3 separate regions of the Homo sapiens genome follow, and all the other regions are linked to region 3. The links are contacts of gene promoters, found by promoter capture Hi-C in blood cells and fetal thymus (Javierre and others, 2016). All regions are on one chromosome and are shown on one strand. The core of a region is centred on a gene start or on the middle of the fragment in contact, and the rest is flanking DNA. Distances in the headings are between cores, read along the strand shown.

The links. Contacts are between HindIII fragments. The CHiCAGO score rates a contact against its expected background, and 5 or more counts as called.
Region 1: a fragment that was not itself captured here is called in contact with the fragment with the promoter of APBB2 in region 3 in 1 of 17 cell types (M0 macrophages); the score reaches 5.3 in M0 macrophages.
Region 2: a contact is called between a fragment that was not itself captured here and the fragment with the promoter of APBB2 in region 3, in 3 of 17 cell types (endothelial precursors, M0 macrophages and M2 macrophages). The highest score is 9.0, in endothelial precursors.

The regions. Positions count from the first base shown.
Region 1 is chr4:40,735,878-40,740,050 of GRCh38, reverse strand. No RefSeq gene overlaps it. Among named protein-coding and RNA genes, the nearest start is that of NSUN7, 12 kb to the left of the region's middle. The HindIII fragment of the contact is 1,694 bases long and covers 662-2,355 here.
Region 2 is chr4:40,951,941-40,955,861 of GRCh38, reverse strand. The region is part of intron 6 of APBB2 (amyloid beta precursor protein binding family B member 2); the gene reads left to right. Among named protein-coding and RNA genes, the nearest start is that of NSUN7, 200 kb to the right of the region's middle. RefSeq lists a silencer at 1,312-1,381. The HindIII fragment of the contact is 8,676 bases long and covers 1-3,921 here.
Region 3 is chr4:41,212,244-41,216,248 of GRCh38, reverse strand. It overlaps APBB2 (amyloid beta precursor protein binding family B member 2), which reads left to right and starts at 1,707. Exons shown (of 18, transcript NM_004307.2): 1 at 1,707-1,844. RefSeq lists silencers at 1,443-1,612, 2,023-2,332 and an enhancer at 3,335-3,414. The HindIII fragment of the contact is 4,637 bases long and covers 1-3,907 here.

The sequences.
Region 1 (4,173 bases), core at 259-2,758, 480 kb after region 3:
TTAATCACTGACATTTCTATTCATATGTAAATGAAGCACTATAATGCATGACTTCACTTAATCCCCTTTTTTCTACTTCGTTTTGCCAATAATTTTTTCACAAATTTATTAGCCCAACTATCTTGAAATGAATGTTTTCAGAGGAAGGAATTCTAATGTGGTGAAACCCAAATATAAATTGCAATATTTACTTACCAAAAAAGGATAAATATATTTAATTTTCTAAAGTAGGAGAAGAGATTGTTAAAAGGAGTTTTGAAAAAAATTAAGAGTATATGTTTGAACTTCATGCTGAAGTAAAATTCCTGTGAAAGTTTCAAGGAAACTGAAGGGTTAAACACTATAAAATGCTAAGTGGTTCTGTTCTTACCTTAGGGCTATATTTATATATTCATAATAAAATTAACTTTGGTCATTTTTCTAGTTAATTTGATCAGTATCTATTGTTGGTTCAAATAATCTAAGGCTTAAAATGAATTTTTTCATTGTCATTGGATTATCTAGATCAACCATTTTGCATTGCTGATAACTAGATTACCTAGATAAACTAGATAAATGCCAAATCTGTAATTCACATTCTGTTAATAGATACCACCTGTTCATAATGTCTCCACTATTATGAACTCTATTACAAATTATTTATTGTAAGTGTTCCAAAGCTTTGTAAGAATGGATCAGATCTCTCTTAAGTAAACATACTTTTCTCTATATAACATAATGCCTATTAAGTATCGTTCCCATAAATTCAGATGATATCATGATTAGCTCTTTAAAAATATAACATTGATCTCATATGCAAGAAAAAAGTTCATAAGATATTATAATATTCTAAAAGATTATAAAGTGTATATTAAATATAAAATATAAGCCCTTTTCATCTATGTTTTAAAATCACTTTAAAATTTTGAATCCTTTTAAAAAATTATTATAATGCTGGGTGCAGTGGCACACCTATAGTCCCAGCTACTTGGGAGGCTGAGCTGGGAGGATTGCTTGAGCTGAGGAGTTCAAGGCTAGCCTGGGCAATAAAGTGAGACCCCATCTCTCTATATAAATAAATCAATAAATATTTATTAAGAGAAGAATATTAAACCAGGCTTTTCAGTGACTCATTTAAGATTTCTTAATTTTTTAAGACCCAGCAGGATTTTGCCCTTGTTTATGTGAAAAAGAGTTAGAGAAATACTCTTTTTATTATTAAAAGTTTTTTTAGAGATTTAAAAAGATTATTTAAATTTGTATTATGAAAACTTCTATCAGATTAAGTGAAGATTTACTGAACATCTACTATCAGTAAGACAAAAATAAGACACAGTTCCTAGTCTTGTGGATACTTACAGATGCAACGGGGTGGGCAGAAAATTATAGTGCAGTATAGTGATACTGGTGCCTAAAGGGCCCAATGGAGCAAACAGAACCTCTACCCCAGATTTGGGAGAAGGGAGCAGGAAAGGTCTATTTAGAAAAAGTCACCTGATAGGCCAGGTGTGGTGGCTCACGCCTGTAATCCCTTTGGGAGGTCGAGGCAGGTGGATCACCTGAGGCCAGGAGTTTGAGACCAGCCTGGCCAACAAGACAAAACCCCATCTTTACTAAAAATACAGAAATTAGCTGGGCGTGGTGGCACGTGACTGTAATCCCAGCTACTCAAGAGGCTGAGGCAGGGGAATCGCTTGAACCTGGGAGGCAGAGGTTGCAGTGAGCCAAGATGGTGCCCTTGCACCACTCCAGCCCGGGCGATAGAGCGAGACTCTTGTCTCCAAAAAAAAAAAAAAAAAAGAAAAGAAAAAGAAAAGAAAAGATCACCTGATAGAACCTATAGCCTTCAGTAGAAGTTTGCATCCAACCCATGGCAACTCACCAGTAGAGAGTGAGCTGGAGAAACATATTTCTGATCTCACTTTTCCTGCTCTCCCCATCTGCTGCAATATCTACGATTGGCTGATTCCAACCCACAGTCTGAGAGCAAGGGAGCCCTTTGATGCATTCCATTCAGGGCACCCTCCTGGGGCACAGAGCATTGGAGGATGGAGACCACTTCTAATATGACATATACACTCTTTTTGTGAATGCCACATTAAAATAGTGCCCTTCACATTGTATGAGAACATTCTAGCCTAATTCGTTTGCAATGCAGGAAAGCCATTATTATAGAATAATCATGGTTTCTCAGCACATTCTTTGAAGGATTCTATTAAACCAGTGTGGAACTAAGAATGAATAGTATACGACAACAGTTTTTAAAAATCCAAAATTGAGTTGTACGTTATGTATTAATAGAAATGTGGGAAATGCAACTTAATTATTATATGTTTCTTGACGGTGGTTCCTGAGTTTTTCACCGGAGCCTAAGCTTGATTGTTTTTGGAGGTATTCTGGCATTAGCAAAGGGTTGGTAAAATTGTGGCAGATCTAAAAATTCCACTGAATCAATTATTTCATTGGGAGTGTTGGGTGTGTGCTTTGGAGTCAAAACAAAGCTCATGCCTCAATGCTAAAATATTGTAGCAAATCGGACTGCATGAAAGAGGCAAAGGTATAGTTTTTATAAAGATCCCTAACCTGATGCTCAGCATACATAATCTAATGGGCATGGAATTCCTTCGCGAAATGTCAGAGTCACCTTATACTGAAATTATACATGTTGCCTTGGTATTTAAATGCTTGAGCAAATATAAAAGAAAAAATATAGAAAATTAAATTGTGATTTCTTTTTCATTTTAACATTAAAGTTAAGGATCATGAAGAATCGTATGAAATGATGGTAGAAGATATTTAATATTTTTATATAACTAAATAAAAATTATCACTGCCCCTTCCCCCCACCCCTGGCAAAAAATGAATCCAACCAGACCAGGCCAATCAAACAAACACTCAAAACAAAAGCCCTGAAACAATAATGACTTCTCACTATGTTTGGATGCACTGTTTCATTCTAAACTAGATTTGGGGAGCCATCTGCTGGCAAATTGGTAAGTTGTTTATTTTTTTTTTATTGCATGTACAGTTAGGGTTGCCAGATAATTTATAGGATGCCCAGTTAAATCTGAATTTTAGATAAACAACAAATAATTTTTTAGCATAAGCATGCCAATACAGTTCAGTATTTACTCCATATGCCAATGCTACCCTGTTTCATTTTTTATTTTTTTTGAGACAGGGTCCGGTTCTGTCACCCAGGCTGGAGTGCAGTGGCATGATCTCAGCTCACTGCAACCTCTGCCTCCCAGGCTCAAGTGATCCTTCCAACTCAGCCTCCCAAGTAACTGGGACTACAGGCATACGCCACCATGCCTGGCTAATTTTTGTATTTTTTTGGTAGAGATGGGGTTTCGCTATGTTGTCCAGGTTGTTCTTGAACTCCTGAGCTCAAGTGATCTGCCCACTTCAGCCTCCCAAAGTGCTGGGATTGCAGGCGTGAGCCGTAGAACCTGGCTCCTACCTGGTTTTAAATTTAGAATTATATGTTTCCAAGTGACTCAGAAAAAGGTTTTCTTGAAATCTGGATAGCATGATTATTTAGGATTGCTCAACTCATATGGTTCTATTCACACTGCTCCAGTTTGAACTGCTTGCCTTTCCCATTGAACCCTACATCTGACTCCTTGTCTATTCTCTTTTTCTTCTGCTTTCTCTATTCTTAATTGAGCTCTGCTTCCTAGCCTGTGTATTTCTTTTTTGCTGCTACATTCTCATGTTTAAGCAATCTGGGTCAATTACAACAGATAAATGAAAAACCAGAAGATAACTGTGTTCTGGTAGTACCTTAGTTATAGAGTCTACTTCTTTAAAAAAGTAAAATAAAAGGCAGACACATGCATATTTTATATTTGACCCTAAAAATGTCAATTTATTATCAAGCTATCTTGCTCTGACTGAAAAAATTAATAAATAAAAATTGACCAGGCATGGTGGCTCACACCTGTAATCCCAGCACTTTAGGAGGCTGAGGCGGGTGGATCACTTGAGGTCAGGAGTTCGAGACCATCCTGACCAACACAGTGAAACCCCCGTCTCCACTAAAAATACAAAAATTAGCCGGATGTGGTGGAGGGCGCCTGTAATCCTAGCTACTTAGGAGGCTGAGGCACAAGAATCACTTGAACCTGGGAGGCAAGGGTTGCAGTGAGCCCAGTGGCGCCACTGCTCTCCAGCTTGGGCGACAGAGTGAGA
Region 2 (3,921 bases), core at 573-3,072, 260 kb after region 3:
GGAGGTTGCATTGAGCCGAGATCATGCCATTGCATTCAGCCTGGGCAACGAGAGCAAAACTTCATCTCAAAGAAAAAAAAAAAGAAAAAGAAAAATATGTTTTGGTTAGGGGAGGGAGATGGAATCTTTTTATGTTGCTCAGGCTGGCCTCAAGCTGTTGGCCTCCAGCAGTCCTCCCACTTCAGCCTCCCAAGTAGCTGAGATTACAGGCACGAGCCACTGTGCCCAGCCTGAAAAAGAGTTTTAAGGCTAAATTCAAATAGTTTGGATTGAAGCGTTAAGCTCCGTCGAGAATAACATTGCTCCAAAGAGTCAGTAGTAGCAGCTGCCACTAAGACTTTGTAAGAGATCAGAAAGATCCCTTCAAGAATGGGAACATTGTGCAGATTATTCCTCTGATCTTTTCAAAATACAAATCACATCACATAATAGCTTCAGATAATCCTTTGCATAAAGGATGAATCTTTAGCCAGTGGGGCTTTACGCCTTATCACAGACCTCTCACCCCTAATCGAGTGACCTTTCTGTTGTAATGACATACAGTCTTTTTCCAGCCACATGACCTTGCCCTTGCTGTTCCCTCTTTCAGAAATGCTGTTCTCTCTTTCAGAAATGCTGTTCTCTTGTCCCTTCCCAAGGCTGGCTCCTTCTCCTACTTTAGGGAGACCTCACTCCCTTAGAGGCCTTCCCAGACATCCTCTTAAATAGCCCACCCTATCCCCAGACATGATTGTTTGCCTCTCTTATTTATTGCTGTATTCCCAGCTTCTAAATAATATTTGGCGTTTATAGGAGGTCATCGGTACAGAAGAATGAGTAAGTGGATGAATGAATGACTGAGTACACACGTCACATTTCTTCTTCTGTGGAGCCCAGTAGTTAGATAGAGTTTGATGGAAAAGAATGACTACCTGGCCGTACAGTGGTGCATGCCTGTAATCTCAGTACTTAGGGAGGCCGAGGCGGGCGGATCACCCAAGGCCAGCCTGGCCAACATGGTGGAACCCTGACTCTATTAAAAATACAAAAAATTACCCGGGTGTGATGGTGTGTGCCTATAATCCCAGCTACTTGGGAGGCTGAGGCAGGAGAATTGCTTGAACCTGGGAGGCAGAGGTTACACTGAGCCAAGATCGTGCCACTGCACTCCAGCCTGGGTGACAGAGCAAGACTCAATCTCAAAAAAGAGAAAAGAATGAGTACCTTTTCTTTTCCTAGGCCAGTGGTTCTCAAAAGTGGGGACTGTTAGAAATACAGATTCCTGGGCCCCACTCCAGAGTGACCGAGGCTCCCCAGCAGTGTACGTTCTCACAAGCCCTCCAGGTGACTCTCATGCTTGAGAACTAGTGTCTTAGGCCGGGTGTGCAGTTCCCCATCTATTGTCATCACCTCTGCACCCCTAGCTTTAAACCAGTGTCTGGCACAGAGTAGACAGGAAGCATTTGTTGAATTAATTAAGCCACCTTCCCTCTTTCCTCTCCACCCCGTGCCTTTCACACCCAAAGCCCTGGGTGCACAAATGTTGGGGAAGGGAGCGATTGCCTTCCTAAGGACCCGAGGGAAATCTTGTGCTCTGTAGTACAGACCTTGCTAAATTTAGACTTTCAGCTCACCCCTTCCTCCTTCCTGTGCCCTCCGCAGCAGGAGAGGAAATTTCCAGCTGCTGCTAGAAGCAAATCTATTTTCATTTGACCCTTGGATTTCTGCAGGTGAGCCTAGGGGGAAGAGGGTTATTAGAAGTGGGTTTGCTTCACACACTGGCCCCACCCGGGAGTGGTCCTTGTTCAGAAGCCAGGCCCCTAGCCCTGGCGCCTGAGGTGGCTGGAAGGAGCCGGTCCTTGCTGCTCACAGATGGGCTTGTTCTCAGGCCAAGTATTGCTTTTGGCCCAAGAGGCTCCCAGCACAAGAGAGACTTTGTGGGGCTCTTCGCCTTGCTATTTTTACACTTTGACTTCCAGGCCCTGCTTCCTGTTCCCTCACAAAAGAACAAAAAGCACAAATTACGAAGAGCCGCAGAGCCCCTTTGAAAGGACACCGATGGCTTTCAGCTCCCACTCTTGACCTGTCCCCTGTCAGCAGGTGACAGTGCCTTCAGTCAGAGGCAGTGATGACAGGAGACTAGAAAGGAGGGAAGGTGGAGAAGCATGTGGATCTCAGCCTCTGCAGCATGTGGAGAGAGGAATTTGATCTTTAAGGCTTCTAGCACGAGGGTTTTAGAAATATATGGGCCAGCTGGAGTGGCTGGCCTGGATTTACTGGAGCAGAATTCGGGGGAAAGGCATTTAAAGGAGGCCCCTGGATAGAGGCCTGAGTTGGAAGTGTTCTCATTTTTAATATCCCCAGAATGTCGGGGTGGATTGGGGCTCAGGGCCAGTCTGCGGGCGAATCTCGGTGCAATGACACACCAGTTGACCATGGTCAAGCCAGCTGTGGATCTCATAGCCTCAGCCTTGTAGCCATTGTTTGGTTATGTTGTCATCCTTATTTATTCATCTTCTAATTTCCCAATGCTGTCCATCTGGGTTTTTCTCAGGTCTCTGTAGAATCCTTTTTTTTTTTTTTTTTGAGATGGAGTTTTGCTCTTGTTGCCCAGGCTGGAGTGCAGTGGCGTGATCTCGGCTGACTGCAACCTACCTCCCAGGTTCAGGTGATTCCCCTACCTCAGCCTTCTAAGTAGCTGGGATTACAGGTGCCCACCACCACGCCTGGCTAATTTTTTTTGTATTTTTAGTAGAGATGGGGTTTCACCATGTTGGCCAGGCTGATCTTGAACTCCTGACTTCAGGTGATCCACCCTCCTTGACCTCCCAAAGTGCTGGAATTACAGGCGTGAACCACTGCACCTGGCCTAAAATCCATTTTTATATGAGGACATAGTTTACCTTTTTGGCTGTAAACCCATCTGCTGTCCTCTCTGAGCCCTAGAAATGGGGATAAAGATAGTGCCTCCTTCATAGGGCAGCTATGACAAACCACAAGCTCCTGCAACGAAGGACACAGGGCGCGTGATACAGCACCTAGTGGCGTCAGTGTCCTTGCAGTTGTTGCTGTTACTGTTACTAGCTTTTATAACATCCCAGCGGGAAGATAGCACTTGCATTCAAGACCTGAAGGACCTGGATTCCACCCTTGACTTCTAGCTGGGATTGATGTGAGCATTAAATGCAGCGATATGTATGAAAACATGCTTTGTTTTATGGATGGGGAACTTTTTTCCAAATAAAGGCCTCACACCCAGTCAGGGGGAAGCTCAGAATCATGTACAAATGCAAAGCAAGTTTATTCATTTGGGGTTGGTTTATGTTTGAGAGAAACCTAGAAGTTTCACAAGTCTACTTAAAAATGGAGAATGAGGGCATCAATCTTTATTTTAAAAATTATGAAATATTTAAATTAAAAATTATGAAATATTTTTGCTTCCTCATTAATTGAGAGAGAAGAGAGATATTTGGAGAAAGAGAAGATGTCTTGTCACAGTAGAGGCGTCACCAGCCAGGGGCATACACGGTGTATAATAAGGAAGACAGTCAGCAAGGCAGGTGGGGTAGAATCTGGACTTGCCGGACCTCCTCAGATCCTGGAAGTCCGGCCCTGCTGAGGGAGCCTAACTGACCTTCTTCTCCTATGAAAGTCACCATAAAATGATCTTTTGTCCTTTTTTTTTTTTTTTTTTTTTGAGACAGAGTCTCGCTCTGTCACCCAGGCTGGAATGCAGTGGTGCAATCTCGGCTCACTGCAACCTCCACCTCCTGGGTTCAAGTGATTCTCCTGCCTCAGCCTCCTTAGTAGCTGGGATTACAGGTGCCTGTCACCACACCCGGCTAATTTTTGCATTTTTGGTAGAGACAGGTTTCACTGTGTTGGCCAGGCTGGTCTCAAACTCCTGACCTCAGGTGATCCACCCCCCCTTGGCCTCTCAAA
Region 3 (4,005 bases), core at 458-2,957:
GGACCCGTCTGCAAGGTTGGAGGCTGGTCGATCTCCGCTCCTGACGGGAATGGTGGTCTTGGGCTGGTTTCCTTGCCTCTTTGGCCTTGAAGATCACAGACTAAGAACCACAGGCTCTCCAGTTCAGAGAGCCTGTATTTTCCCCAAGAGGTCTACTGTGGCCCTCGACTGTCCTTGGTCCACGGACGTGTTAGGTGGATCTTGGGGTGCAGAGACTCAGTCCCAAGAGTAAACACTTTTCATGAATTTATAGGGATTTCTCTGTGACAGTATTGTTTTTATGTTGTAGGAAGGAGGGACATGATTGCTGGCCTCCAGCTCGGTCTGAGGGAGATAATTGTTAATTGGAGAGGTTATTGGAGTGCAAAAGTCAGAAACCACCTTCCACAAGGCAGCCCCCCTCCCATCCCTTCGTAACAACCTCACTGAGTCTGCATGAGGGTCCCTCTATACACTCTATTCGCACCTTGTGCATTTCCCTCCCAGCACTCTACCTGTTTGAAATAACCGTTTTGAGTGATTATTTGATAGGTGTCTGTCACCCGGCCGGACTATAAATTCCATGAAAGCAGGGGCCTGGGCTTTTAAATTCACCACTATCCTCAGGCCTAGTACAAGACCTCGTGGATCCTTAATAAACTCATGTAGGAAAGAATAAAGTAATGCCCACCCCACTGCATAGAGTCCTCATAGGAAGAATCACGTGAGTTTTTAATTCGAGATCCTTGGTAGGACTGTGTGTGTGTGTGTGTATGGGTAGGGTTCTCTAAAGTGTATAGTCCTCACACCAGCAGCATCAGCATCCCATGGGAACTTGTTAGATATACAGATGCTTGGGCCCCACCACATATCTACCCATTCAGAGACACAGATTGGGACTCAGGGATTTGTACTTCAGCAAACCCTCCAGGCGATTCTGATCCAGGCTCCAGTTTGACAACCGCTGCCCTGGTGAAGAGCAATCCTAAGGATACTTTGGGGATGTCATTCACAGCGTCTGGGGCAGAGCACGGTTTACCGTTTACTGAGACTCGACTCTTATCAGGGCTTTGTTTGCACGCTTACAATTAGAGTTATAGATAATATTATTGGCAATGGAAAGGAAAACCTCCTTTTCCTCTCCGGCAGTTGTATCTCTCCCCTGATATTATCTTGTGATTTCCGGATCAAAGAAGAGTGTGTGTGCGGCATATGCCTGGGGGTGGGGATAGGAGGTAGAAGGAAGGAGAAGGTGTCGCCTACAACTTGCAGTTAGCCTGGGTGGGTGTGGGCAGCTCTCCTGTGGGGACATTTTCCTATTGCAAGGGAATGCTGGCGTGTGGGAGAAAAGCCAGGGCTAAGGTAACCCAACTGCCTTTTGGTGCAGACAGACACCAGCCACACGGAGGGGATACCCGGGCTGCACTGCACGTCCTGCCTTTGGGTCTTACTGGGGGACCCATTGCCTCCCTGCGTGTTCCCAGGCGATTGGGGAGGGTGCCTCCCGCAGGCCCTGCCGCCTCCACCTGCAGGGGTCGCCCTGGGAGCGCGGCCCGCCTCCTTCTGCCCGGCCCCCACCCCCCGGCCCCGCCTTTCTCCCATTCGGCCCCCTCCCCGCCGGGTCCCTCCAGCCTTCCCTCGCGCAGCCGCTGCCAAAGCCTGGAGAAGTGGAATCTCGTCAGCGCCGCTCCCTGCGCGGGACTCGCGGAACGGCACTGAGCATGCTCAGTTGCCGGAGCCCGTTCTGGTCTCAAGTAGGAAGCTAGTGCGCTGTAACCGCATCTGATCTGGGCGCTCCGGGAAGGGCGAGACTGGAGCAGAGCCGCTGGGCGCCGGAGCCGAGGCGAGCGCCGCGCGCACCACTGGTGAGCCCAGCTTTCTTCCTTGCCTTTGCCCCGGATTCCGGGGCAGCACGAGAGTGCTGGGGAAACACCCGGGTAGCGGCAGCAGCGTGCGGCGAGCGGCTGCGGGTTCCCCCGGCGGCTTCTCCTCTGCTCCCGGCCCCGGGGCTCCGCGGCCACTGCTGCCCGCTCAGCCGCAGCCACACCTGCAGCAGCTGCCGCGGCATCTGCAGCGGGGCGCCTGCTGCGGAGTCCCGTGCGCCCTGCGCCCGCGCCGCAGGGCCAGTGGCACGGCGACTGCGGGCTCACTCTCCTTGACTTCCATCCCTCCCGCTTCCCGGCGCCCTCTTTCCCTCAGCAGCCCCGGCTTGGCAGGGCCTGGGGCGGGGGAGACCGGGTTGGAGGCGGTGCGCCCGGGTGGGGACTGCAGAGGGGAAAAGTGAGGGTGGGCGCCTGCGGGAAGAGCGCACACCCCCTTGTCCTGGCACCGGCCTCCGCTGTGCCGCTCGGCTGTCTCTCCTGGGCGGCAGCGCGCTCCTGCCGGGGAGTTGGAGCCGGGGTTGGCTTCTCCACGAGGGGTTCAGAGGCCAGCCCATGAGACATGAAAGGGGGGAAAAGTTCCTTTTCCCCCTCGGTGGCAGAGAGAGCGTTTAACTAGAAAATGGCTGTGCATAGGGGACCGACTCCAGGAAACTGGCCACTGGGACCCGAAAGCCCCTGCGCTGCCCACCGGGCGGAATGGAGGGTGGTACGCTAGAAATGACATTTGTGCGGCGAGAACAGAGCTGGACGGAGGGAAGGATGCTGAGACCCATAGAAACAATGAAAGGTGGTCTTCACGTCGGTGAAGTGGTGTAGACTACGGGTTCGGGGCAAACAGCCGAGGGAGCATGGGACTAGAATTCAAAAAAATAAATTAATTTGGATAAATCATATGTGGAGTTGTCACCGACCGTTCTGTAGTCAAGTTCTGCGCGGTTTTAGAGCCACGACTGTCACAGACGTTTTTGGATGGATTGAGTGGTTGAGGAGGGTTAAAATTGAGAGGAGAATAAGGTCAGTGTCGGAAGCTCCAACTGGGCTCTCGGAGGGGACAGTTTGTTTAAGTCCCTCAGTCACTGGCTTTACATTGTGTCTAATTACTTACGTGAAATACCCAAAGGATTATCATAAAATGATGCCATCGGTGGTGTTTGAATTCCAAGGAATGAGGAAACTTTGTGAGGTTGGCATGGGTTTATCATTTGTTTTAATATTTCACTGATTTAAAAAAAACAAACACAATGGCAGTTTGATCTGTTGTTTCTGGAGTTTACTCTCTTAAATCTTGCTTTTTTTTTTTTTCTTGTCATGGTTTCAGATTTAAAATCTTGTCCCCAAATGGCCATAATAATGCAGAGTATTAGAATTTGTGTGGCTGGCCTTTTAGGAACAGATGGAATCCTTGAAAGGGGATTTCTTCATGAACTTAGGTAGCAACCTTCTCGTTTTCAACTTGTAGCTTGTAAGCAATATTTGTTCAACAGTTGTTTATCATAACTTGCAACATCCTAGAAATGGCATCGTTCGTGAAGGATGGTATTTGTGGCGAGAATGGGGAAACCTCCAGGCTGGGGAAATGCCGAGAGAACACAGGTGGCAGTAGAGTACAGTGGGTTGATCATAGGGCGGAAGGTGGTGGGGTACAAGTACAAGATTTCAATTGCTGTTCTTTCGTTGTCCATGTACTGTATGACCCCGAAGTCACCGACAGTCTTCGTAAACTGGATGTAACCACGTCTCTAGATATTTGCTGAGAGCCTTTGAGAGACGACTCTAAAGTTGAGATCCTTTCCACAGAAGGTTTTTAGGTCCTATGCTTTTATTCCCTCTTCTAATGGATACTTTTAACTGAATAAATTCACCTTCAAGGAGCCAATGTGAACTGGCTTTCTGAAATTTTTATAAAGTGGTAATTGAAAAGCTGGATGGTGAGGTGGGAGGATTGCTTGAGCCTAGGAGTTTGAGGCTGTAGTGAGCTATGATCACGCCACTGCACTCCAGCCTGGGCAACAGAGTGAGATCCTGTTTCTGAAAAAAAGAAAGCTTGATGAGCTAAAGTGCAAAATACTGGTGTTTACACTTAGCTGGAGTAATGTGAATACTGACTCCAAAATTACTTGGGAAAAAACTATTGCATATATTG